7 separate regions of the Homo sapiens genome follow, and regions 1, 2, 3, 4, 6 and 7 are each linked to region 5. Evidence: promoter capture Hi-C in 16 types of primary human blood cells and fetal thymus (Javierre and others, 2016). All regions are on one chromosome and are shown on one strand. The core of a region is centred on a gene start or on the middle of the fragment in contact, and the rest is flanking DNA. Distances in the headings are between cores, read along the strand shown.

Region 1 (3,588 bases), core at 466-2,965, 350 kb after region 5:
GGGAGGTGGGGGGCAGCCCCCGCCCGGCCAGCCACCCCATCCGGGAGGGAGGTGGGGGGGTCAGCCCCCGCCCAGCCAGCCGCCCCGTCCGGGAGGGAGGTGGGGGGTCAGCCCCCGCCCAGCCAGCCACCCCGTCTGGGAGGGAGGTGGGGGGTCAGCCCCTGCCCGGCCAGCCGCCCCGTCCGGGAGGTGAGGGTCGCCTCTGCCCGGCCACTGCCCCGTCTGGGAGGTGGGGGGCGCCTCTGCCCAGCCGCCACCCCGTCTGGGAGGTGTACCCAACAGCTCATTGAGAACTGGCCACGATGACGATGGCGGTTTTGTTGAATAGAAAAGGGGGAAATGTGGGGAAAAGAGATCAGATTGTTACTGTGTAGGTGTAGAAAGTAGACATGGGAGACTCCATTTTGTTCTGTACTAAGAAAAATTCTTCTGCCTTGGGATGCTGTTAATCTATAACCTTACCCCCAACCCCGTGCTCTCTGAAACATGTGCTGTGTCCACTCAGGGTTAAATGGATTAAGGGCGGTGCAAGATGTGCTTTGTTAAATAGATGCTTGAAGGCAGCATGCTCGTTAAGAGTCATCACCACTCCCTAATCTCAAGTACCCAGGGACACAAACACTGCGGAAGGCCGCAGGGTCCTCTGTCTAGGAAAACCAGAGACCCTTGTTCACATGTTTATCTGCTGACCTTCCCTCCACTATTGTCCTATGACCCTGCCAAATCCCCCTCTCCGAGAAACACCCAAGAATGATCAATAAATACTAAAAAAAAAAAAGAAAAAGGTTAAAAACTAAAAAAAAAAAAAAGGTGCTAACATGTATATTTAATACTACTCGGAATTTTTTTTCTTTTTTTTTTTGAGATGGAGTCTCACTCTGTCACCCAGGCTGGGGTGCAATGGTGCAATCTCAGCTCACTGCATCCTCTGCCTCCTGGGTTCAAGTGATTCTCCTCCCTCAGCCTCCTGAGTAGCTGGGATTACAGGTGCCTGCCACCTGCAGAGACAGGGTTTCACCATGTTGGCCAGGCTGTTCTCGAACTCCTGACCTCAGGTGATCTGCCTGCCTCGGCCTCCCAAAGTGCTGGGATTACAGGCGTGAGCCACTGCACCTGGCCTCACTTGGATTATTTTTTAATTGTGGCGCTGTTTCTCCCTACAACATGACTCTTACAGATAGCTTCAAAAGCCTGGCTGGATGGATAACACCATGGTACAATACACGTTTTCAGACAGCCACACAGTAGACTTTTAGGCATCATACACTTGAGTTTTCCTTGGCTAGTTTTGACTATAATCAAGTTTTTCATGCTGAGATGAAGCTTTACATGGAAAGCTGCTAACTGCCAATTTACAACTGTGTCATTTGAAATTCCATAAACATTTCTTCTTTTGGCAGCATTTATAAATAACAAAAAAGTTGTATTCTAGCTTCTAACCATCCTTTGTGAATAAGAAGTGTGGCATTGTGGAGGTACAGAAGACTTCAGCTCTCATATATAGTACCTGCCATAAATTAAAGTATGCTAAAATTTTTTTTTTTTTTAACTTTATAGAGATGAGGTCTCACTGTGTTGCCCAGGCTGGTCTCAAACCCCTAGCCTCAAGCAATCCTCTTGCCTCAGCCCCCTAAAGTGTTGGGATTACAGGCATGAGCCACCATGCCCAGCTGAATGTTATACTTTGTAGCTCAGTAAATTGAACTATGCTAGTTTGTTAAATTTTACCATTATTCACTTAGAGAAAATCACAAACAAAATTTAAAATCTCAATTTTCTTTGAGGCAAGGGTCTTGCTATATTGTCCAGGCTGGTCTTGAACTTGTGGCTCAGGTGATCCAACCACCTCAGCCTCTGAGTAGCTGGGATTCTCACCCTTTTTGAGTACAGAAGTAAATAAGTACTTGCACTAAAATTTTGTATTTTTTCTTAAACATGGTTAAGATTATTGTTTTCATCATAATTAACCTATCATGTCTATTTGATCCCATAGAGCCAATTGAAATCTGGAGAAATTTGGTCAGTTAACCTGTTGGTTTTTATATATGGCACCAACTGATCTCTACCAGATTGACACAGTAGATCAGCTGTTTTAATGCTGAAAAGAGAAGCTTATATAAATACAGTGCACATCTATTAATGCTTCTCACGTCTGTAGTTCTGTTTCAGGCAGAGGTTTTTTGGCATAGGACCTGTATTCAGCTCACACTTTCCTAGGCTGGCTATGAGTAGAATGCCTCGTGGCAGTAGCTACACTCATACATAGGCATTGATCTTAGATCTGTGTAGAGTTTTAAATCATTGGCATCTTTTAGGCCTAAATTTTATATTTGCTGGATTTTTTTTTTTTTTTTTTTTGAGATGGAGTCTTGCTCTGTCACCCAGGCTGGAGTGCAGTGGTGCATCTCTGCTCACTGCAAGCTCCGCCTCCCGGGTTCACACCATTCTCCTGCCTCAGTGTCCCACGTAGCTGGGACTACAGGCACCCGCCACCACTCCCGGCTAATTTTTTGTATTTTTTCAGTAGAGACGGGGTTTCATCGTGTTAGCCAGCATGGTCTCAATCTCCTGACCTCATGATCCACCTGCCTCGGCCTCCCAAAGTGCTGGGATTACAGGCGTGAGCCACCACACCCAGCCTGGAATTTTTTTAAAGCAGTAAATGTAAACGCTAACTTTAGAAAATATTAATAATATGATTAATTTTAGCCAGAATAAAATAATTTGCCATCTTTATAGAAATCTGGCCACGTAGGAATTAGCATTCTTAAAATTGGCACTGAAGCCAGAAGATGGATAGTGAAATTGGTCACATGCATAGACAGCTACCAAGTCCAGTGTTTAATGGTGCCCAGTGAAGAGGATTGAAGCACACACCAGAGAAGCAGCTGTAACTGGGTCAGAAGAAAAGTGTCAGGCTGAGACTTAGTTTTAGGTAGAAAAATGAGCTGCTTGCCTCTACATTCATTATTGGCTCATCTCATAAACTCAAATGAGGGGATCAGAAGCTGGCAGAAGGGACGGACTCATGCTTGTTGATCCGGATGACCTCTGTTTCAAGGTTCCAGCAATGAGTTAGCTTACATTTTACAAGGTCTCCCAAAGTGAAATGTAGTAGTCTTTACTTAGTGACAGACTAATTTACAACTATGTAATTCTTTTAAGTTTGTAATTAAAATTTCTTCTGAATTATTAATGGCTTTATTGACATGATGTTAATAAAGCCTCTCATCTTGCTGTTAAGTATTGTAGTGAGAAAATCAGCTGACCTGGAAACCATGGGGATTGGTTCTAATGAGCCATAAATGCTTCCCCTCTTCCTTCAGCACTAGTAGACTACCAGCTTTAGGCATTTAACCAAACGAATTGGAGACAGAAAATATTAAAATCCAGCCATCCTATATCAGATGATGAACTCATTTCCAGACTAACTACCCAAGAAAGCAAGTTAAACACTGTAAAAGCCTAAAACGGGGCAAGTTGGGATTAGCTTTTAAAATGCCTGCCTTGAAAAACACATTATTCTGTGAGGTTTTTTTTTTTTCTTTAAAGTTGTGCAAATTTGATTCGGAAAAATAGCTTAATAGG
Region 2 (3,655 bases), core at 495-2,994, 390 kb after region 5:
GTACAGCAAAAATACTCCATGAACAAAATGAGACAAAAGGTAACCCGGGGAAAAAGATATACAACACATACGACAAAGCGCTAATATCCTTTACACAGAAATAGATGAAAGATATAAACAGAAAACACACAATGATCAATAAAACAAACAAAAAGGCTAAAATGCTCAATCTCATCAACATTTTTTAAATGCATATTAAAACAGAAATTTAACCAAATTAGAAAATATTAAAAAATGAGTAATAACCAGTGTTGGTGAAGAAACACTGGCAAACACAAACAGGGCTGGGGGGAGTACATGTTGGTACAAACTTTTTGGAGGAGAATTTGGCAGTCTCTACAAGTATAACAATGTTAAAAAGAGCAGATTTATCATTCAAAAAGAGAAACAGGCTGGATACGGTGGCTCAAACCTGTAATCCCAGCACTGTGGGAGGCCAAGGCAGGAGGATCACTTGAGGCCAGGAGTTTGAGACCAACCTGGACAACACAGCAAACCCCCCCAACTCTATTTATATTAATAAAATAAAATTTTAAAAAAAGAAAGAATACTTCGACAATGTTAACTCACCAATCTTAGAAGGAAAAAGAGTTTCATCATCAAGCTGATCTTGAACCCAAGTCATCAAATAGTCAATGTATTTTGGTGCAGAACATTTGATTGGCTTTTTAATATTAGTACCATCTGCCCAGTGATATTCATATCTGAAGAGAAAAATGTTTTACTGATAAATTTTTCAAAAATATTAACAAATGTGCAAGTTGTGATTAAAACAGGTTCATTCACATTTTGTCAATAGAAGTTACATCTAACTTTAATAAATCACCTTAAGTTCTACTGAAGATTACTGTGAGTTCCCTATGTAATTATCCAGAAAGTGACAGTTATAACTGGAAGAAAAAAGGGAGATAATGTGGCAGGAGGCAATGCCAGGATAGATGTTTTATTAACAACACAGCCCTGGGAAACACAAAGGAACTGCATTCCTGTAAAGCAGAAGGTTGCTGAGGGCTGGGCATGGAGCCGATGGATCCACTACATTCTTCTGAGATTCTTGGTCATCAATTTATTATCATCAATGGACCCAAGATTATAAAACTCTGTTTTGGGGGCCAGGTGTTAGAGATATACATTAGGCATGCATACTTTCCCCCCTTACCTTTGCCGAGCTAGAAGGATTAACAAGAGTTATACAAAACATCACTGTGTAAAGCATTTGAGCCATAGGTAAGTTTAATTTTCCTGTTTATTTTCATTTCTTTTAAAGCTTGAATAATAAAACTTAACACAATATAAAATAAAAACATTCTTCCTAAAATATTATAATAAAAATAGAACTACAAACTCATTAGGGATCTTTTTTCCTTTACACTTGTAGCAAAGTCAGAAAGGACAATCTTTTCTAAGAAGCAAACATCTTGATAACATCTATCATCACATAAAATCAGTCATTTATTATAAGAAAAAAAAAAGAAACTGGAAGGAAACACAGCAAACATTAATCCCATCATATGATGGACTTAATATTATGAGTGATAGAGTTCCATCTTTTTCAGTATTTCTTGAAATTTATTAAAGTCAAAATGTTTTTAAATCTAGCATCTTCAAGCCAGATAATTACTTCTAAATTGTGCTGCTTTAAATACTAAATAAGCACAAGAAAAAATAATCAAATATTAAAAGATCAACTAAAAACTCTTCCAAGAAATTCATTTAAAAACTAGAAACAGGAAACATAAATGTTATTAATAAAATTGAAAAAATAAAATGTTTGCAATTCAAGACAAATGTAACTCAAATTTCTGTTTATTCCTATAATAAAACATTCAGACTTACTATGATGCAACATAAAAATGAAAACAGGGAGTACCCACATACTAAAGTATTTAATAATAACTAATAGCTGGCCAGGTGCAGTGGCTCACACCTTTAATCCCAGCACTTTGCGAGGCCGAGGTGGGCAGATCACTTGAGGCCAGGAGTTTGAGACCAGCCCTGGGGAACATGGCAAAACCCCATTTCTACTAAAAATGCACAAATTAGCTGGGAGTGGTGGCACAGGCCTGTAATCCCAGCCACTCGGGAGGCTGAGGCATGAGAACCGCTTGAACCCGGAAGGCAGAGGTTGTTAGTGAGCCAGGATCACACACTGCAATCCAGCCTGGCAACAGAGCGAGACTCTGTCTCAAAATAAATAAAATTTTAAAATTACACAATAACTAAAAGCTTACAGGTGAGTAGTCAAGAACCAATAAAACTGAATCACCTTCACACAAACGGATAACAAATCTTAACTGTTTAATTTCTATCAATTGGTGATAAAGTAAAACTAATCCAAACACCTATATAATAGGCAGTATATGTACCTCGGACCTGCAGACATGACTGGACAGCTTGCTTCAGTGCAGAATTCTGTAATAGTTCCATATAACATGTTGATCTGGTTAAAGAAATCCACAGCTGCAGAGATAATAGAATTGTGTCAAAATGTCTGTGTAAACACAAAATATGAGACCTCCAGTTGAAGGAAAAACAGACAATACATTTAGGTTCTTAGCTGAACCCTTGAGACATTCAATAATCCAATGATACTGTAACTTGTAGTATACTACACTTTTTTTTTTCTCTGAAACAGTCTTGTTCTGTTGCCCAGGCTGGTGCAATCTTGGCTCACTGCAACCTCCGCTTCCCGGGTTCAAGCAATTCTCCTGCCTCAGCCTCCCAAGTAGTTCGGATTACAGGTGCATGCCACCACGCCCAGCTAATTTTGTTTTGGTATTTTTAGTAGAGACAGGGTTTCACCATGTTGGCCAGGCTGGTCTTGAACTCCTGACCTCATGATCCACTCGCATGTAACAGCAGGAAAATAAGATACTGGAGATAATTCTAACTTAACGATGACTATTATATCCTTTGGATATACAATATGATTACATCCAAGGGAATGAAAAATCCATAGTTTACCACTTTGGACCAGATAATACCATTTGTGTTAGGAAAGAGACAAAACATGTTGTGGAATATACTGTGAGGGAGAAGGTGCACCAGCTGTATCCAGAGGCATTTAAAAGATCTAATTAATCATAAACATTTGTTTTTGAGGTCTACAGCATACTGAGGACAAAATACTTCAGATAAAGTCCCCTGCCCTGGAGTCTCTAGCTAACAGAAAGGACAAAATTAAAAGAGATGAATAATATAAGATATGGCCAGGCATGGTGGCTCATGCCTGTAATCCCAGCACTTTGGGAAGCTGAGGTAGAAGGACTGGTTGAGCCCAGGAATTCAAGACCAGCCTAGGCAACAGAGTGAGATTCCATCTCTACAAAAATTTTTAAAAAATTAGCCAGGCGTGGTGGTGCACACCTACAGTCCCAGCTATGTAGGAGGCTGAGGCGAGAGGACTGCTTGAGCCCAGGAGGCTGAGGTTGCCGTGAGCTGTGATGGTGCTACTGCACTCCAGCCTGGGTGACAGAGACACTGTCTCAAAATAAAAATAGCAATAATAGTACAAGATATAAGAAGACAGGATCCAAAGGCCAACGATAAATGCTACAGAGAAAAGGCAAAGTCATGAAGAGTTGGAAGTAGTCAGGGGGTACTTCCTGAGGGAGCTTCAGCTAGATCCAGAATAAAATGGAAGAGGCAGGGGGTG
Region 3 (3,636 bases), core at 1,069-3,568, 420 kb after region 5:
GTTACAATTTTGGATTCCCCGTGGGACTTAGCTGACTCTCCATTTCCCTGTTTATTTTGGGGTAGCAGTTAATCTGCCCCTTGGCAAAAGAGATGATGCTAAATTAGTTAATGACTCACTCCCAAGGCTGTATTTCACATTTTGCAGAGTTGTGGGAAGCAGAGGAGGGCTGACAGTTATACTATGAAAGATATTCATTGCATGTGACTTTGTTTTTGGTTCTTGTTACTCTTTGACTGTTTTTCTTTCTTTTCTTTTTTTTTTTTTAAGCAAATTGGCATAACATCCAGAACCTGCTTTTGGAAGCAAAGTTTGGGACTTGGAACACTGGCTTTTCCCAGAACCCTGTGTCCTTAACTTCAGTATATGATTTTATCTGAATGTGCTAATACCATTTTCTCTAAGTTTACTGCTTTCAAAAGAAACTTTTTATGAGGTGCAAGCTAAGTCATTCTCACTGACTAGATATACATATAGTGTATATACTTATATATATCTCCTTATGTGTAAGTGTATCTATTTTAAGGATACATGTGTATGTGTGTGTATATATACATATATATATAAAACCAAGAGAAAAGAGTAAGAAATTAGTTTTATTGAACATATATGCCTGGCACATTATATATGTTTGTTATTTCATTCAACATAAATGACTGTTCTAAGCCGTTTTAAAGTAGTCTTTCACTCTGTAGTGTTCCAGGATTAGGAATGTATTTTTGGCCTGCGGTGGGCATTCCAGGTACTAATACAAATCAGGAATGAGGAATGTTGCCAGGTGTATTTGTATCAGCAAAACCCCCCTATTTTAATTTTTTTTTTTTGAGATGGAGTCTGACTCTGTTGCCCAGGCTGGAGTGCAGTGGCACGATCTCCGCTCACGGCAGTCTCTGCTCACTGCAACCTCTGCCTCCCGGGTTCAATCGATTCTCCTGCCTCAGCCTCCCAAGTAGCTGGGTCTACAGGTGCGTGCCACCATGCCCGGCTAATTTTTTGTATTTTTAGTAGAGACGGGGTTTCACCATATGAGCCAGGATGGTCTCAATCTCCTGACCTCATGATCTGCCTACCTTGGCTTCCCGAAGTGTTGGGATTACAGATGTGAGCCACCATGCCCGGCCTGCAAAACCCTTTTAATGAAGTCCTCTTCGACTCTAATTCTGAAATGGAATTGTGAATATTAATATGTTTTCAATTTCTTCATATACCATGGGTATAATTAAATGCTATTATATGTTGTGCCATGCTAGTATTATATAAAATCAGGGTAAAAGTATTTGATTTGCTGTAAGATTGTAACTTTTTTCTTTTTTTGAGATGGAGTCTTGCCCTGTTACACAGTCTGGAGTGCAGTGGCGTGATCTTGGCTCACTGCAACCTATGCCTCCTGGGTTCGAGATATTCTCCTACCTCAGCTCCCGAGTAGCTGAGATTACAATTACAGGGTCCTGCCACCATGCCTGGCAAATTTTTGTATTTTTAGTAGAGGCGGGGTTTTGCCATGTTGGCCAGGCTGGTCTCAAACCCCTGACCTCAAGTGATCTGCCCACCTTGGCCTCCCAAAATGCTAGGATTACAGGCATGAGCCACCGTGCCTGGCCAGATTATAATAATTTAATACTTCACAAGATGCAATACAGATTAAGATAAAGTTTATATATAAGATTATTGCATTATATCTAAGATGTTGAGATTTGGTTTAAAGTTGGTATTTAATCATAATGCAATAAAAAACACTTATTGAAGGCCTAAAGATTGTGAAAGCTTTAAAATCCCATTTAAATTAGCAGTTACTGGCCGGGTGCAGTGGTGGGTGCCTGTATTCTCAGCTATGGAGGCAAAAGCTGGAGAATTGCATGAACTTGGGAGGCTGCAGTGAGCTGAGATTGCTCCAGCCTGGGCAACAGAGCAAGACTCTGTCTCAAAAAAAATAAATAAATAAATTAGCAGTTATCTTGAGAATTAATTTTATCTGACCCTACAGGATATTCAGTACCTTGATGTTAGGTTTTAGAATATAAGAGGAGATTACTTCATTGGTCTTGAGGTTAGAGCAGTCTTCATGACACCAAGGACAGAGATCTAAAGGGAAAGGCTTTTTTTAATGGGATCATTTTACTTAAGGAAGAGATGCTCATCTAGTTTAGTTTAGTTTAGTTTAGTTTAGTTTAGTTTAGTTTAGTTTAGTTTAGTTTAGTTTAGTTAGTTTAGTTTAGTTTAGTTTTTTGAGATGCAGTCTTTCTCTGTCGCCCAGGCTAGAGTGCAGTGGGGTGATATCAGCTCACTGTAACCTCTGCCTCCTGGGTTCAAGCAATTCTCCTGCCTCAGCCTCCTGAGTAGCTGGGATTATAGGCGCGCACCACCATGCCTGGCTAATTTTTGTATTTTTAGCAGAGACGGGGTTTTGCCATGTTGACCAGGCTGGTCTGGAACTCCTGACCTCAAGCAATCCACCCTCCTCGGCCTCCTAAAGTGCTGGGATTACAGGCTTGAGCTACCACGCTGGGCCAGATGCTCATCTTTAAGTAATGGGCACTTTACTGTAAGGACATGTGTGAAAATAGGAAAACTGGGACTCTTCCACATTTGGGTTTCATGGAACCCAGGAAGAGTTGCATAAGCAGTTCTCTTTGGGAAGAGACAGCCTTTCGGGCAGCTGAACATGGTTTTGGGAACTGGAGGTTCTTCTAGATCCTGATTTTTCTTCTTGCTCCCCACCTCAGCAACAGTTTTCTGATTTCTTGCCCTGTTGTCTCCCATTGGTGTGACTATTATTCTGCCTATTCTTTCTGTCTTTGTTCTGTGGTTCTAGTTTGAACTGCCTCAGGGACGAGCTCTTACTGGTTCAACTAACTCTCACTGCTCTGTTGAGCTAAGCTTTTGCGCCAACTGGACCACTGGCCAGCCTAGAGATTGTTGCCCTTGGCGTCACATACTCACTCCTGGTCTGTCAGCTTTGGATGATATGGTGGGGTCCCTGGGAAGAGCACATTGCCAACTGTGAGAAGGAGCTTCCTCCAGTCCCCTGCCCTGCCCCTATTCTTACCAGGAAAGTCTTCCCCAGAAGGGACTGTGGGGAGTGGTGGTCATTTTGATGTTTGACCTGTCCAGTATGTTGTTTGTTTGTTTGTTTATTTTTGAGACGGAGTCTAGCTCTGTCACCGAGGCTGGAGTGCAGTGGCACAATCTCAGCTCACCGCAACCTCTGCCTCCTGGTTTCAAGTGATTCTCCTGCCTCAGCCACCTGAGTAGCTGGGATTACAGGAGCCCACCACTACGCCCAGCTAATTTTTGTATTTTTAGTAGAGACAGGGTTTCATGTGTTGGCCAGGCTGGTCTCGAACTCCTTACCTTGTGATCTGCCCTCCTCGGCCTCCCAAAGTGCTGGGATTACAAACGTGAGCCATCGTGCCCGGCCTATATTGTTTGTTTATTCAACTACAGAATATAATTTATCGATTTAAACCACCATAAAAATGAAGTCAGTTGACTGGGAAATGATTTGAAATACATGCCTGGCTGCTAACAACAGGGACAAAACACGAACTACAAATGGCATATAAGCAGATAAGAAAAACTATTTAACCTCATGGTGAGGGGTCAAACAATTGCAAATTAAAACTGTAAAACACTTAG
Region 4 (3,485 bases), core at 40-2,539, 470 kb after region 5:
CCCATGCACTGCAGGATGTTTAGCAGCTACCTACTAGATGCGAGTAGCATCTCCCCTCTCCGGTTGTGACAAGCAAAAATGTCTCTGGACATTGCCAAATTCCCTGGGCTCGGGGGTAGGGGGACTAAGGAGGGCCAAAGCTGCTTACAGTGAGAACCACTGGTATAAAGCCAAGGGCATATAAAACATGACTTCATTCTCAAAGTCATGATTTATATGTAGATTTTCAAGGCCACATCCTTTCCTAAATCTAGATCAACCTGAATGACTCCAAGAGCTGGAAAAGAAACCCAGGCCAGGAGAACTTTCTCTTATTTTCTTTAAAAAAAAAAAAAGTTTTTGAATAGGTAAATTAAGTTTTAAAAAAGGTACTGTTATTGAGTTGTGTCCCCCCAAAAGATATATTAAGGTCCTAACATCTATGTAACACCTATGCAAATGTAATCCAGTTTAGATTAAGTCATTATGGTGGGCCCTATTCCAACATGACTGGGGTCCATACACAAAGAGGAAAGTGCTCTGTGAAGACAGACACACAGGAGGCCATGTGGTGGAGAGGCAGAGCCGGGGGTGATGCGGCTGCCAGCCAGGAACACCAAGGACTGCTGGCCACCACCAGAAGCCAGGAGGAGGCCAGGAAGGATTCCACCTGGAGCCTCAGGGAGCACGGTGGTCCTGCCAACACCTGCTGTGGAACTCCTGGCCTCCAGAACTGCAGGAGAGTAACCTTCTGTGGTTTTAAGCCACCTAGTTTGTGGTACTTTGTTACAGCAGACCCAGGAAACAGGCACCAAAGGATATCTAAGAGAAAAGTTTGGGTTCCTCTCCTCTTGTATGGGTCTCAAATTCCCCTCTCCTGAGGCAACCTTTTGGGGATCCATGATGGGGTTCAAGGGCTCTGGGAGGGAAAGAAGGCAGGGGTGACCTCGAGTGGGCACTACAGACCATGGTTGGGAAAAGTCCCTAGAGGGCAGCTGAGAAGGGAGAAGTCTAAAGGACAGCAGGGTCACTGGGAGGCCTGGGGTGGGCACCTTCCTGTCCAGATAAGTTCCTCCCCGATTTCATGCATGGCTGGCATCTCTCCATCATCCCCGCTGCTTGTTCCGCCGGCCCCGCCACTGCCAGCCCCGCCGCCACTGCCACCACCACCACCACCTCCATTGCCTCCTCCAGGAGCTCCGCCGCCTCCTCCCACAGAGCCATTCATCTGGCCCAGCTCTGCTAGGGAGAACACAGATTTCCTGGAAGAGAAGGGGGATGAAGGAGAGTGGGTCCCCCAGAGCACCCCTCACCTCTCCAACCAAAATTATGAAATATCTTAAAAGACAGACAAAAATGCAGAAAATTGTCTAACAATATCCACACGCAGGTCACCTAGATTTTACAAATGTTCACATTTAGCCATATTTGTTTCTGATATATCTTATTATTTTTAAACTTATTTTAAACATTATTTTGAGACAGGGTCAAACTCTGTTGCCCAGGCTGGAGTACAGTGGCATGATCACAGCTCACTGCAGCCTTGACCTCCTGGGCTCAATCAATCCTCCTGCCTCAGCCTCCAGAGTAGCAGGGACTATAGGTGCATGCCACCATGCCCAGTTAATTTGATTTTTGTTTTGTAGAGACAAGATCTCACTATGTTGCCCAGGCTGGTTTCAAACTCCTGGGCTCAAGTGATCCACCTGCCTCAGCATCCCAAAGTGTTGAGATTACAGGCATGAGCCACTATGCTGAGCCTCAGATGTATTTTAAAGAGAAATAAAATGATACCGACAGAGTTGAAGCCTCCTTTTTCTCTCCCTACTGCCCATTCTCATACACACCTCTTGTCAGCAGAGGGCACCTTCTTGGGGGGCTCAATCCGGATATTTGGGTCCCATTCTCCAGGAGGAAGGACGATGACCTCATCCAGAAATTCATCAATTCCTGCGATCAGATCTTCCCGATTGCGGGCTTTGTAGGCCACGTCACTGAAGAGCTGGCGAGGAGAGAGGAGGGAGAAAAGAAAGATCGGGTCTGTTTCTGAAATGCCTGGGAGCATATCACATCTAGTTTTTAAAGGAATCCCTTTGAACCACATCTCCCACTGCCAACTCACTCTCAGTTTTTGGAATGAGACTATAGTACATTGGTAAAATATGGCACAATGGGACACAGCAGGCACTGGGGGAAGACAGCCTCTCTTGGATCTGAAGGCCAGGTCTCCATATTCTTGCTTGTAGGACTTCGGTTAAGTTACTTAACCTTTCTGTTTTCAGTTTTCCACACATCATACATATTAGAAAACCTTTGTAGAGCCCAGTCCAAGGAGCTCAGATATTTCATAACCATTTTTTACTTCCAGCCCTTCGCCCTTGGAGGCTCAGGCCGTGTTCTTCACACTGTCTCCAGAGTGTGCTTTCTGACTTACAGATTCGATGGGACTATGCTCACATTTAACCCTTTCCCATTTAGGCAAAAAAAAAAAGTGCAGCTCACTGCCAGCACTCATTTAATTTTACATAAACACACTCTTTGAGGCCGAAGCAAATCTGACTGATTTTCAATGTGAAAATGCAATATAAAAATTATTCTTAGAATTATTTCTAAAAAGAACTAACATTGGAATCATTGGAATGATCAGAATCATCTATTTTGGAAACACTGGATTCATCAAATGAATCTTAGGCCAAAAACTGTTCGAGAATGATGTTAGCATCACTCGTAGGAATGCTAGTTTTCTAGGATTTGATATTTTCAATGATTGAGAGTTAGTGTATTTTGTAAATGGAAATGCCACAACTAAAAACAGAATGCTTTAAGTAGAATGATGTCTTTTGTTTCCAAAGTCAACATATAAGAGCAATGCAAAAATAATAATAAAAGTGAGACATTTCGTGGGGAAAAGTTATCTCAGGGTAAAGCCTGCAGCCGCAAGCACCGCCAGTGAGTATTCTTGGCACAAACGGAAAAAGAGTTAAAGTCCTCTAGGCTCCCCATCACTCTGGGGACAGAGTGTGACTCAGCTCTGCTTACAGGCTCTGTGTAGTCTCTGGCTCACCTCTCCAGTATTACCTCCTGCCCTTGAAGCTCTTACACTGAGCCTATATCAAACCACCTCCATCCAGCTTCTCTGAGCCTGATCCATTTCCTTTGTTTGGAATGCTTGCCTCACAGCCTGGTGCTGGGTCTACCTTCCTCCTGCTCCTCCTTAGCTTTAAAGCCCCCTCATCTGTGAAGCCCTCCTTGACCCCCTGGGCAGCTAGCACATGGTTAGTTTTACAATTATCAATCTGTCCCTCACACTTGATTGGTTCTCCTAAAGGACAATGACTATTCCCTGATTCTCATAATCTTTAGCATCCTATGTAGTGCCTGGTACACAGTAGGTGCTCAAATGTGCTGGCTGGATAAGTTAATGAATGAAGGTGCAGTGCTTGGTGCAGGAGCTGTAAAATTCAGGAGTACAAGCTTCTGGTTACCACTTACATCATCTACCATGA
Region 5 (3,639 bases), core at 73-2,572:
TTAGTAGGAAACTTCAAGTTCATATTTTAAGAGAAAACCTGCTAGAAGAGGGACTGTGAACTTCACTTAATAATGCTAGGAACTGGCCGGGCGCGGTGGCTCACGTCTGTTAATCCCGGCAATTTGGGAGGCTGAGGCAGGTGGATCACCTGAGGTCAGGAGTTCGAGACCAGCCTGACCCACATGGTGAAACCCCATCTCTACTAAAAATACAAAAAAAATTAGCCGGGTGTGGTGGCGGGCGCCTGTAATCCCAGCAACTTGGGCGGCTGAGGGAGGAGAATCGCTTGAATCCGGGAGGCGGAGGTTGCAGTGAGCCGAGATTGGACCATTGCACTCCAGCCTGGCGGAGAAGAGCAAAAATCCATCCCAAAAACAAAAACAAAAAAACGGATTGGAAGAAAACAAACAGGAGATTCACTAATTAGAACCCCACTGCAATAAGTCAGGCAAGACCTGTATTAGGGTACTGACAGAAAGTGACAGTCAAAAGATAGTAGATAAAATGAAGAGGATTTATTGAGGTATGAGATGGTGGAGGATGGTCTCAAGGAGTAAAAACAGTTCAATGCACCTACGTGCAAAGTCTCAAAATTAATCATTTGTACGTATAAAGGAGTTATCTTTCAAATGAGGCCTGTTAGGAAGTAACAAAGTATGCTCTTTGTGATTTCTGGAAACAATACAAACCAACTTTCCATGTGAGATCTCAGGGCGCTACTACTGCTGGGTTCCTAACTCAAACCATTACACTTTCCGTGCCAACGTAACAAGGAATTGAGGAGGTTCCATTTTGGGAATTAAGGAGTGTCCCCAACAGTAACAGTCCCACCTTAAAGCAATCCTTCCGTATTTTACCTAAGAGCAATGGCCAGAACCTCCCTTTTACAAGAATATGGAGAAATCACAGGACATCACAGACATCGCCCCTTTCAGCTACAGCGGGTGGCGCAGAGGGTCAAAGCCTCAAAGCAAGCGGCGGACAAGTCAAGCTTGCGATGGCAACGGCGAGAGGCAGAGACCACAAACGATGAAGCCCAGACCCAGAAGCCACGAGCTGGAAAGGCCACGCCAAGGGACCAAGACATACTACCTTTCGGGGATGTGGTTTCCGCCCTTCTTCTTGGCTGAGGAGCGTCCTGAAAAGTCGCGTCTCCGGCCCCAGCCACTGCGGGGATGATGCCACTGGCTCATGTGGGTCCCAAGAAGCCGCCCACCCAATGCCAAGTCGGCCAAAAGCGCCAGTCCGGCGCCCTCAATGCCAGGATAAGACCCTAAACAGGAAAAGACTCGGCAGCCACCTACGCCGCGCTCCAGCGTCTCGCTATTGCGCATGTGCCACCGCCGGTCGTGATGGCGTAGCCACGCTGGCTTACTGAGACTCCTGATCTGTAAACAGGACTTTGGTGGCTACAGCGCCCTCTTTAGCCAGAGGCCAGTAGCACAGGTCAATAAGGGCGTGTATGCACCCTTCAGAATTCAAACAGTGAGGCACAGGGAAGTCCCTCTGCCCGATCCGCCCCACGCCCCGGTTCCTTGTGTGTTCTTCTAGATATTTACCAGCGCTTACATTCACATTTTGCATATTTTGTATACATATTTACTTTCACATATATGTATATCCTCTATTTTTATACAAAAGGAGTAACTGTACATATTCTACAGTATACCTTAAACACTGATTATCCCAGTCAATTTATGCATACATAGATTCTATTTTTAATGGCTATAGGCAATTTACTTGCTTATGAGTAACATAATTAAAAGTACCATAACGTATTTAGCCAGTTCAATATTAATGGACCTTTAGTTGTTTTCAGGTTCTTTTCAAATCTTGTTACAGACAATGCTGCAATGTGAACATCCTTATACATATATACAACTATATCTAAATTCCTAGAAGTAGAATGTCTGGAATGAAACACATACAAACTTAAAATTTGGAAAGATACTACCTAATTACCCTCCAAAAATAATGTAGAAACATACACTCCCATCAAAGCCAAACTTTTATTGGGTTCCTATCACATACCAGGTATCATGCTAGAGGTGGACAGAATGTATTTAAGTTTTAGCAAATACAAAAAATAACTGAGAGTGGAGCTCAAGTCCAAGGTTTCCACACAGTCTCAAGCATAAAGATCTGTACCCGTTAGAAAAACGTTCAATTCTGCTAAAAGTGGAACTACAAAGGACAGCATACCCTATAGCAGCTTTGAAAATAGAATAGAGTACTAAATTCCAGATTAAACTGTAAGTAATTATGATTGCAGACTTTTTTTTTTTTTTTTTGAGACCCAGTCTCACTCTGCCACCAGGCTGGAGTGCAGTGGTGCCATCTCAGCTCACTGCAACCTCCGCCTCCCGGGTTCAAGCAATTCTCCCTGCCTCAACCTCCTGAGTAGCTGGGACTACAGGTGCATGCCACGACTCCCAGCCAATTTTTTGTATTTTAGTAGAGACAGGGTTTCTCCATGTTGGCCAGGATGGTCTCGATGTCTTGACCTCATGATCAGCACTCCTCGACCTCCGAAAGTGCTGGGATTACAGGCTTGAGCCACCGCACCTGGCCAATGGCAGATTTTTGAAAGTAATTTTTACTTCTTAGTTTCTAATTTATGAAAGTAACTTACATATATTTTTAGTAATCTTTGCAACCATTTCAGAGCTGGGTAAACCAAGGATAAGAAAGGTCAGAGCTATTGAATAAATGAATATTAATAAAGCTAGACTGCTAGCTTTATTAACATTTTTGAGACAGTACTTTTCCAACCAGTTTTAAATACATAAACATTTACAATTCTGAAAATTTCCACATCATTAAAAATGTGTCAATATTCATAAATTGTTCATTGGAAAAAGAAAAAGACAGGATAGCAGAACATAACAAACCTACAATTAGGAACATTTAATTATTTGTTGTTGTTGTTGTTGAGATGGAGTCTCTCTCTGTCACCCAGGCTAGAGTGCAGTGGCGCGATCTCAGCTCACTGCAACCTCTGCCTCCTGGGTTCAAGCAATTCTCCTGCCTCAGCCTCTTGAGTAGCTGCGACTACAGGCGTGTGCCACCATGCCCGGCTAATTTTTGTATTTTTAGTAAAGACAAGGTTTCACCAAGTTGGCCAGGCTGGTCTTGAACTCCTGACCTCAAGTCATCTGCTCTCTTCGGCCTCCCAAAGTGCTGGGATGACAGGCGTGAGCCCCTGCGCCCAGCCCACATTCAAATTTGACATTAAATTGTAAAATATTGTGGCCGGGCATGGTGGCTCATGCCTGTAATTCCAGCACTTTGGGAGGCCGAGGCGGGCAGGTCACTTGAGGTCAGGAGTTAGAGATCAACCTGGCCAACATGGTAAAATCCTATCTCTACTAAAAATACAGAAATTAGCTGGGCGTGGTGGCTCATACCTGTAGTCCAGGGTACTTGGGAGGCTGAGGCAGGAGAATGGCTTGAACATGGGAGGCGGAGGTTGCAGTGAGCCAAGATTGTGCCATTGCACTCCAGCCTGGGCAACAGAGCGAGACTCTGTATCACGAAATAAATAAATAAATAATACAATGTTTTTCTGAAATGCATGAAAAATTCCAATAGGTGTATAGTAGCCCAAAACTACAAATGTTACAAATGTCTATAGACAT
Region 6 (3,464 bases), core at 114-2,613, 440 kb after region 5:
GGAGAAAAACAGTGGGAAAAGAGGATAAACACCAACACAACAATTTGGCTTTCTTTTTTTTTTTTTTTGAGACAGAGTCTCGCTCTACTGCCCAGGCTGGAGTGCAGTGGTGCGATCTCGGCTCACTGTAACCTCTGCCTCCTGGGTTCAAGTGATTCTCCTGCCTCAGCCTCCCAAGTAGCTGGGATTACAGGCGTGCACCCCCATACCTGGCTAATTTTTTGTATTTTTAGTAGAGATGGGGTTTCACCATGCTGGCCAGGCTGGTCTTGAACTCCTGACCTTGTGATCCCCCCTGCCTCGGCCTCCCAAAGTGCTGGGATTACAGATGTGAGCCACCGCGCGTGGCCAACAACTTGGCTTTCTTGCCAAGATGGAAAATGCATGCATGAACATTGCAAACCACCATTCTGTTCACCTCTAAACAGTTAGGGGATGCTGCAAATACCCTGGGGTCCACTGAAGGGGAATGGGCACAGTTAGCCTGCTGTCCTATACACACCATCAGACAGACCGGAACTCTTCCAGGAATGTTACTCATCAAAACAGTTTTATCTGTCACAGCAACCAGTCACTTGGGAATGAACCTCACACAACAACTGTGTTGCTATAAGACAAGTAAAATGAATTTGTATAAATTGAATCCTGTTTTTCCATTGATATATCATAATTCAGAGATTCTTTTTCCCAACCCTGTAATAGTTCTTGGCATGTGGTAGCCACTCAGATATTTATTGAAAGTATCAACAAAAGAAGTATTTGTCTTTAAAAGGCACTTAGTCTCTGTTTCTTTGTTTTCAGAACCCACCTTTACAAATCATCTACAAACACATGCATTATGGGACTCTTCCTGGAAGAGCACAGTAATTAAGGACCAGGGGAGTTCTGACTGATCAGAAGATGGTTTAATCACCACCAGCCAGTCAGAAGGGATTTGCCTTGAACAGGTTTCATCTGCACAAGGCAAAATCACGAGAACAGGACAGGGTGGATGCAGGGACGTGAGTTTGGGTCAAATTGGGAGATTGGGAACCAAGCACAGCATTAGGAGATGGCACAGGCAGCTTAGCATATCAGAAACCAGCAAAGTCAGGAATTATTTTCTTAATTCCTTCTTAGAAATGTAGCTACATGTCCATTTTGGGTAAGTCACTTCCTTTTGTGGGGACAGTTTCATCATAAGTAATGAACACATGAATTAAGAATCTTTCTGCCTCATGTTTTGTGATTCACTATAATTTCTGGACTGGCCCCTTGTCTGTTGACTCCCTGAGTGTTTTGGGGATGAAATGGGAAGGGACCATGGGAGAAGAGGGGCAGATGGGGCAACCATGTTGTCCCAGACATCTGGGAAATGTAGCCAGTCTCCTTTTGGCGAGGATACCTGCCTCTTTCCCCATCTTTGTCCTCAATACCCTAGGCAAAGGCGCAAGCAAAACTTGTTCCCAGCCCCTCCTGCCTGTCTGGAGTCCAGTCTACTTATAAGGCCCCATTAGACACCTCTCCCCAAGTCTGCTCCACTCTTTGGAGGTCAGTCTTCATAACCTCCTTCCATGCTGGAGCTGCCTCCTGGCCCTTCCCACAGGAACCCGCTTGCTGTGATCACGGCCGTAAAGCCCACAGTGATGGAAAGAGTGGGCATGGCCAGTCACCTTTTCCCTGGACAGGGAGTCTCATTCACTCTGGCCCACCCTGAGGATATTCACATAAACAGAAGAGCCCTCAACACCCCAGACCAAGACAAGCAGATGCCCCAGCCCATCCTGGACTGGGCCGAGGCACTGCTGCAGGCCACCCAAGAAGCCGCCCTCTCCCTGTCCCTGGCAAAAGTGGAGAGAAGGTCTCTCAATTTCTCCTCTGTGCCCCGGCCTCACATCTTCCCCACCTCCTCATCACAGTCCTCGTGGGCCCCTTTTTTTCTCTTCCTCTTCTTGTCTGTCTCCTTTTTTTCCTTCTCTGGGAGGATGTTGTCAATCCAGGCCAGGTCGTGCTGGGAAAAGATGAAATCCAGAAGCCTTCGAACGATGATGAGGCCCAGGATCTGTGGTGGAGAGAGACTAAAGTTTTGTGAGAATTTGGAGAAAACTGTGGTCTCAATGCCCAAACTCAGGCATAGATTTTTTTCTCCCTCAGTCGGCTGAGTTCAGGGACTTTTTGTGGTGTCTTTGGAGCCGTCTCGAAGCTCCCATAAGCCATTATTCACTTTCCCTCCACCGTAGTTCCTCTTGTCTGGCCCCTCAGGTGAGTGACCATGCCTACCAGTGACCAAGAGGGACGGAGCCTGTGACAGCCGAAGTGGGGAGCCTCAGAAAGGCCATGGGCTGGAGAACTACAGTTATTCTTTAAATTAGTGGTTCTCAGCCAGGCGTGGTGGCTCACACCTGTAATCCCAGCACTTTGGGAGGCCGAGGTGGGCAGATCGCCTGAGGTCAGGAGTTTAAGACCAGCCTGGCCAACATGGTGAAACCCTGTCCCTACTAAAAGTACAAAAGTTAGCCAGGCATGGTGGTGGGTGCCTGTAGTCCCAGCTGCTCAGGAGACTGAGGCAGAAGAATCGCTAGAAACCGGGAGGCGGAGGTTGCAGTGAGCCAAGATTGTGCCACTGCATTCCATCCTGGGCGACAGAGCAAGACTCCATCTCAAACAAATAAAATAAATACATAAATTAGTGGCTCTCAAACTTGAGCATGCACCAGGACCTGGAGGGCTTGTTAATTAATACACAAATCACTGGATTCCCCCAGTTTCTGATTTAGCAGGTCAGGTAATGCCTGAGAATTTATGTCTCTAACCACTCTGTACATTTGCCAAAACTCATAGACCCACACATTGAATTTTACTGTATGCAAATTAAACAAAAAAATCAATAGGTGGAGGGTGTGGGTCTTGCCCTGCCCTATCTGGCTGTGTGTCCAGGGTCACTCTGCTCATGCTCTCTGAGCCTCATTTTCTCATCTGTAAAGCGGGGTTATTAGTGCTTTGGGGGCTGGTGTGGACTCAGTGGAACAGTACTCAGTAAATGCTAATCATGACTACTACTGCCTTTCCCTTCGCCAGCTCTGAGGCCCCTGAGGGCACTGGGGGGAGGATCTATCTCCCTTTCCCTGCAGTGGGGGTTCTCAACCCTGGCTGCAGGTCTATGCTCACCTGTGGACCTCATAAAAATACCAAAGTCTGGGTTTCCCTAGAGATTCTGATTTGTTGATCTGGGTTGATTTTCATGGGCAGCCCGGGTCAAGAACCATGGACTAGACCCCTCCCAGCAGTGTGCACTTCAAGTTCTCCTCAGTGTCCTTACTTTGTCCCCTACCCCAGAGCCCTCAGGCTTTCCCCAGGCATTTGCTGACACACTCCAGGCTCCTGGCAAGGGCCTGGGTCACTGCCCTCGGTGAGTTATCTAGGGGGCCAGATGCAACATGTTGTTGGCTTTGCATTCTTTTCACTTCTTATTTTGGAGTAATTTC
Region 7 (3,510 bases), core at 195-2,694, 310 kb after region 5:
GAAACATTCTCTGCTGTCCATACAGGAGCCACGTGTAGCTGCTGAGTATTTAAAATGGGACTAGTGCAACCAAGGGACTGAATTGCTTTAATTTTTATTAGAATTCAGGCCGGGCATTGTGGCTCACGCCTGTAATCCTAGCACTTTGGGAGGCCAAGGTGGTTGGATCACCTGAGGTCAGGAGTTTGAGACCAGCCTGGCCAACACGGCAAAACCCCATCTCTACTAAAAATATAAAAGAAATTAGCCGGCTGTGGGCACCTCTAATCCCAGCTACTCAGGAGGCTGAGGCAGGAGAATTGCTTGAACCCAGGAGATGGAGGTTGCAGTGAGCCAAGATAATGCCACTGCACCCCAGCCTGGGTGACAGAGTGAGCCTCTGTCTCAAAGAAAAAAAAAAATTAGAATTCATCTGTATTTCTGTAGCTTCATGTGGTTTGTGAATAACATTACGTAGTACGAGTCTAGCAGCTGGAGCTTTGAAGTCTGTCTGTATTCCTGGCTTATGACAGGCTCTGGGCTGGGCTGGGCTGGGCTGGGCTGGCTGTGGAATTTCTAGCATGGATCCTGCCTGCCTTTCTCTTCCTGTCTGTAGCCTGGGAGGAAAGATCCACAGTTGTTGCTCTTGGCTTTTTCAGTCCCACTGTGCCGCACCTCTGACCTACGGTGTTCAGCACTCGAAAGCAAGAAACGTTTGATATGTTCTGGGCTGAACTGGGCGGGAGCCTGAAGGAGCAGTAGTTTAGCAGTCAGGATGACTAGACCTTCAGGCCGTGGCTTCCACAGCTTTTCCTGGGAGCCTCAGTGTCCCCAGCTGTGAAGTGGACACAGCACCACAGCCCTCCTGAAGGAAAGGCCAGAAAGACACCTGATAACACCTCCCTCCCAGCCTCCCCCACGATGCTTCAGGAATGCCAGTCCACTTCCAGGGTGCAGGGTCTGCCAGGCGGGGCTGCTCTGGATGTGTGACTGCCCCTCTCTCTGCAGGAAGAAGTGCTCCGGAAGAGTTTCCAGGACCTGGCCACCGAAGTCGCTCCCCTGTACAAGCGACTGGCCCCTCAGGCCTATCAGAACCAGGTAACGGGCCCTGGGCCTTTTGCTGCCCACATGTCACCGTCCACATCTCTGCTCAGGCTCTGAAGGTGGGAAGTGGGAGAGTGGGCTCTTTTACTCTCTTATGGGAAGAGCCTAGTCCAGAAGTAAAGCGATATGATGTGGTTCTTTGATAAAAACCCCTTTTTTACACCAGGCTACCTGCATCCCACACCGTCCCTCTTCTATCCTGGTCTTCTCCCTTCCCCTGGTAACCCATCCACCTCCTCTGGTCTGGTATCCACTGGTGAGGCCCGAGTTTCTCTCACCTGTCACCCTTGTATCTCCTAGACAAGGCAAGGGGACTTGGGATAACCCAGAAGGAAGTAATTCCTACAGGAGACTGAAAGTAACTTTTTTGTAGCTGGGGCCTCTCAGCCAGAAAACCTCCCTCCTGCAGTCGAAGGGCAAGGTGACTATCATCCTTAACATCCCTCCTTCCAAGACCTGGCCTCCCCAGGTGCAGAATCGGGGCCACTCACCTCAGGTCATGTGAGCACCTCTCCTTGGCTGTCTACACAGGTGACCAACGAGGAAATAGCGATTGACTGCCGTCTGGGGCTGAAGGAAGGACGGCCCTTCGCGGGGGTCACGGCCTGCATGGACTTCTGTGCCCACGCCCACAAGGACCAGCATAACCTCTACAATGGGTGCACCGTGGTAAGCCTGTGCCCTGTCATAGCCCCACCTGTGGGGCAACTGTGGGAGGGAGTCCACCGTGGTCTTTTCAGAAAGGCAGGCTGAGGGTAGGGAGGGACCTGGAGACAGGATCCTCAGAACTCTGGAAGGTTCCCTGCAAGACGGCCTGCCTTCGCCCACCTCCCAGAGAAAACCTCACCAGAAAACCCTTGAACAGACAAGGCTGGCTTTGTGTCTGTGTCTTAGGGGGATGCTGCAGGATGTAGCCCCTCAAGCACCTGGAGTGCCCAGTTATCTAAAGCGTGGGCCCCGGTCTCTGTGGACACTTGGATTTAAATGCAAACAAACCCTTGATTCATTCTTTGGACAAATGTGTATTGAGTACCAGCTGTGCCCAGGCACTGCTCTGCATGCTGCGGGATGAAACGGACAAAGTTCCTGCCCAAGTATGTGTGGGAATGTCCTGTAGCAATGAAGGCCAAGAGGGAAAAATGAAGTAGGGTGAGGGATAAAGCAACAGGAGATGCTGTTTTAGATGAGAGGCTGCTCTGAGGAGGGGACGTTTAAGTTGAGATGTGAATGGCGCAAGAGAGTGAGAGAGCCACTATCTGGGGGTAGAGTGCTCCAGGCAGAGGGACCAGCGTGTGTGCAGGCTCCGAGCGGGGAGCAGGCTGGGTGTGTGTTCAGGGAACAACAGGAAGGGAGTAACTTACTGCAAGGGGCAGGGAGAGTGGGATTGGAGAGGCCTGCAGGGACCAGCTCACAGGGAGCCTTGAGGGCCAGGGGAGGGTTGCGGGGTTTGCTCTAAGTGTGATGGGAAGCTGTTGAGGGCTTCTCAGCTGGGCAGCAGTAAGTTTGCATTGTAAAGTTAGACGCACTCCTGCTGCTGCAGTTAGAGAATGAGGTGTGTGATGGTGGGGGCAGAGTGAGGTGAACGGGAGGGAATAAGAGGAAGGAGGCGAAGGAGGAGGCTGGGGCAGCCATCCAGGCCAGAGGGGACACGGCTTGGGCAGGAGTGGGGGGAGGTGCTGATGGGACAGATTTTGGATGATGTGGAAGGGACTGCCAAGAGGATTTGCAGATGGGCTGGATTGTTATGTGAGCAGGACTTGAGGAGCACTCCAAGGCTTTTTGCTTCAGCATCTGGGTGAGTGTTGGTAACATGGACCGAGATGTAAGTAACAGGGGAAGGCTGAATTTAGGAGTAAGAAATCAAGAGTCCTGTTTCAAGATGCCTGCTAGACGTGCAGGTGGAGATGTGGAGTAGGCAGGGGGCAAGGAGGGTCTGGAGAGCACGTGGTTTATAGTTAGAGCTGTGAGGCCGACGCCATCAGCAGGGGAGTGAGTGCAGATGGAGAAGAGAGGGAGTTTGGACTTGGTTAGGGGCTTCCTTGAAGGGATGATGCTGGCTGTCTGCTCTGCCTTTTAGCCAGGTTCTGGGCAGACAGGGCTTCCAGGGGCTGAGGACGAGACAAGGGCACCAGCACATCTGCCTGGAAAGAGGGCTCCCAGATTCCGAGTGTAGCTTATGCCCCCTGGGGATTGATGGACCCACCTCGGGATTTCATTTCTCCACTTGTTTTCTATCACTGCATCCAAGACTGAGAAGCAAGAAGGGGCAGCTCCTGCTGGCACTCTGTTGTGAGGATTTCTAGGTGAAATACACAGAAAGGGCATGCCCACAGTGTTAGAGAGACGAAGGAGCCCAGGGGGCCCTGGAAGGTGGGCGAGAGCAAGAGCACCATGAGGTGATCTGGATCGCAGAGCTTCTAGAGTTTG

Evidence for each region. Contacts are between HindIII fragments. The CHiCAGO score rates a contact against its expected background, and 5 or more counts as called.
Region 1: a contact is called between a fragment that was not itself captured here and the fragment with the promoter of DUSP11 in region 5, in 6 of 17 cell types (neutrophils, naive CD4 T cells, total CD8 T cells and 3 more). The highest score is 6.6, in neutrophils.
Region 2: a fragment that was not itself captured here is called in contact with the fragment with the promoter of DUSP11 in region 5 in 3 of 17 cell types (fetal thymus, total CD8 T cells and erythroblasts); the score reaches 5.8 in fetal thymus.
Region 3: a contact is called between a fragment that was not itself captured here and the fragment with the promoter of DUSP11 in region 5, in 4 of 17 cell types (fetal thymus, total CD8 T cells, neutrophils and 1 more). The highest score is 8.9, in fetal thymus.
Region 4: a contact is called between a fragment that was not itself captured here and the fragment with the promoter of DUSP11 in region 5, in 1 of 17 cell types (activated CD4 T cells). The highest score is 5.1, in activated CD4 T cells.
Region 6: a contact is called between a fragment that was not itself captured here and the fragment with the promoter of DUSP11 in region 5, in 1 of 17 cell types (erythroblasts). The highest score is 8.7, in erythroblasts.
Region 7: a contact is called between a fragment that was not itself captured here and the fragment with the promoter of DUSP11 in region 5, in 1 of 17 cell types (M0 macrophages). The highest score is 5.3, in M0 macrophages.

What each region holds. Positions count from the first base shown.
Region 1 is chr2:74,124,163-74,127,750 of GRCh38, forward strand. It overlaps a transcript of TET3 not described here. Among named protein-coding and RNA genes, the nearest start is that of BOLA3, 22 kb to the right of the region's middle. RefSeq lists an enhancer at 1-113. The HindIII fragment of the contact is 788 bases long and covers 1,322-2,109 here.
Region 2 is chr2:74,164,648-74,168,302 of GRCh38, forward strand. It overlaps MOB1A (MOB kinase activator 1A), which reads right to left. Exons shown (of 6, transcript NM_018221.5): 3 at 2,367-2,460; 4 at 571-704. Among named protein-coding and RNA genes, the nearest start is that of MOB1A, 12 kb to the right of the region's middle. The HindIII fragment of the contact is 959 bases long and covers 1,266-2,224 here.
Region 3 is chr2:74,201,705-74,205,340 of GRCh38, forward strand. The region is part of intron 1 of MTHFD2 (methylenetetrahydrofolate dehydrogenase (NADP+ dependent) 2, methenyltetrahydrofolate cyclohydrolase); the gene reads left to right. Among named protein-coding and RNA genes, the nearest start is that of MTHFD2, 4.9 kb to the left of the region's middle. The HindIII fragment of the contact is 1,113 bases long and covers 1,763-2,875 here.
Region 4 is chr2:74,251,148-74,254,632 of GRCh38, forward strand. SLC4A5 (solute carrier family 4 member 5) reads right to left here. Exons shown (of 31, transcript NM_133478.3): 14 at 3,472-3,485; 15 at 1,827-1,981; 16 at 1,032-1,241. Among named protein-coding and RNA genes, the nearest start is that of MTHFD2, 54 kb to the left of the region's middle. The HindIII fragment of the contact is 4,323 bases long and covers 1-3,451 here.
Region 5 is chr2:73,778,781-73,782,419 of GRCh38, forward strand. It overlaps DUSP11 (dual specificity phosphatase 11), which reads right to left and starts at 1,323. Exons shown (of 9, transcript NM_003584.3): 1 at 1,094-1,323. The coding sequence starts at 1,194. RefSeq lists enhancers at 815-964, 1,095-1,144, 1,225-1,294. The HindIII fragment of the contact is 6,659 bases long and covers 991-3,639 here.
Region 6 is chr2:74,222,955-74,226,418 of GRCh38, forward strand. It overlaps SLC4A5 (solute carrier family 4 member 5), which reads right to left. Exons shown (of 31, transcript NM_133478.3): 28 at 1,886-2,041. Among named protein-coding and RNA genes, the nearest start is that of MTHFD2, 26 kb to the left of the region's middle. The HindIII fragment of the contact is 4,313 bases long and covers 1-3,464 here.
Region 7 is chr2:74,091,915-74,095,424 of GRCh38, forward strand. TET3 (tet methylcytosine dioxygenase 3) reads left to right here. Exons shown (of 12, transcript NM_001287491.2): 9 at 988-1,077; 10 at 1,615-1,752. Among named protein-coding and RNA genes, the nearest start is that of BOLA3, 54 kb to the right of the region's middle. The HindIII fragment of the contact is 4,624 bases long and covers 1-3,510 here.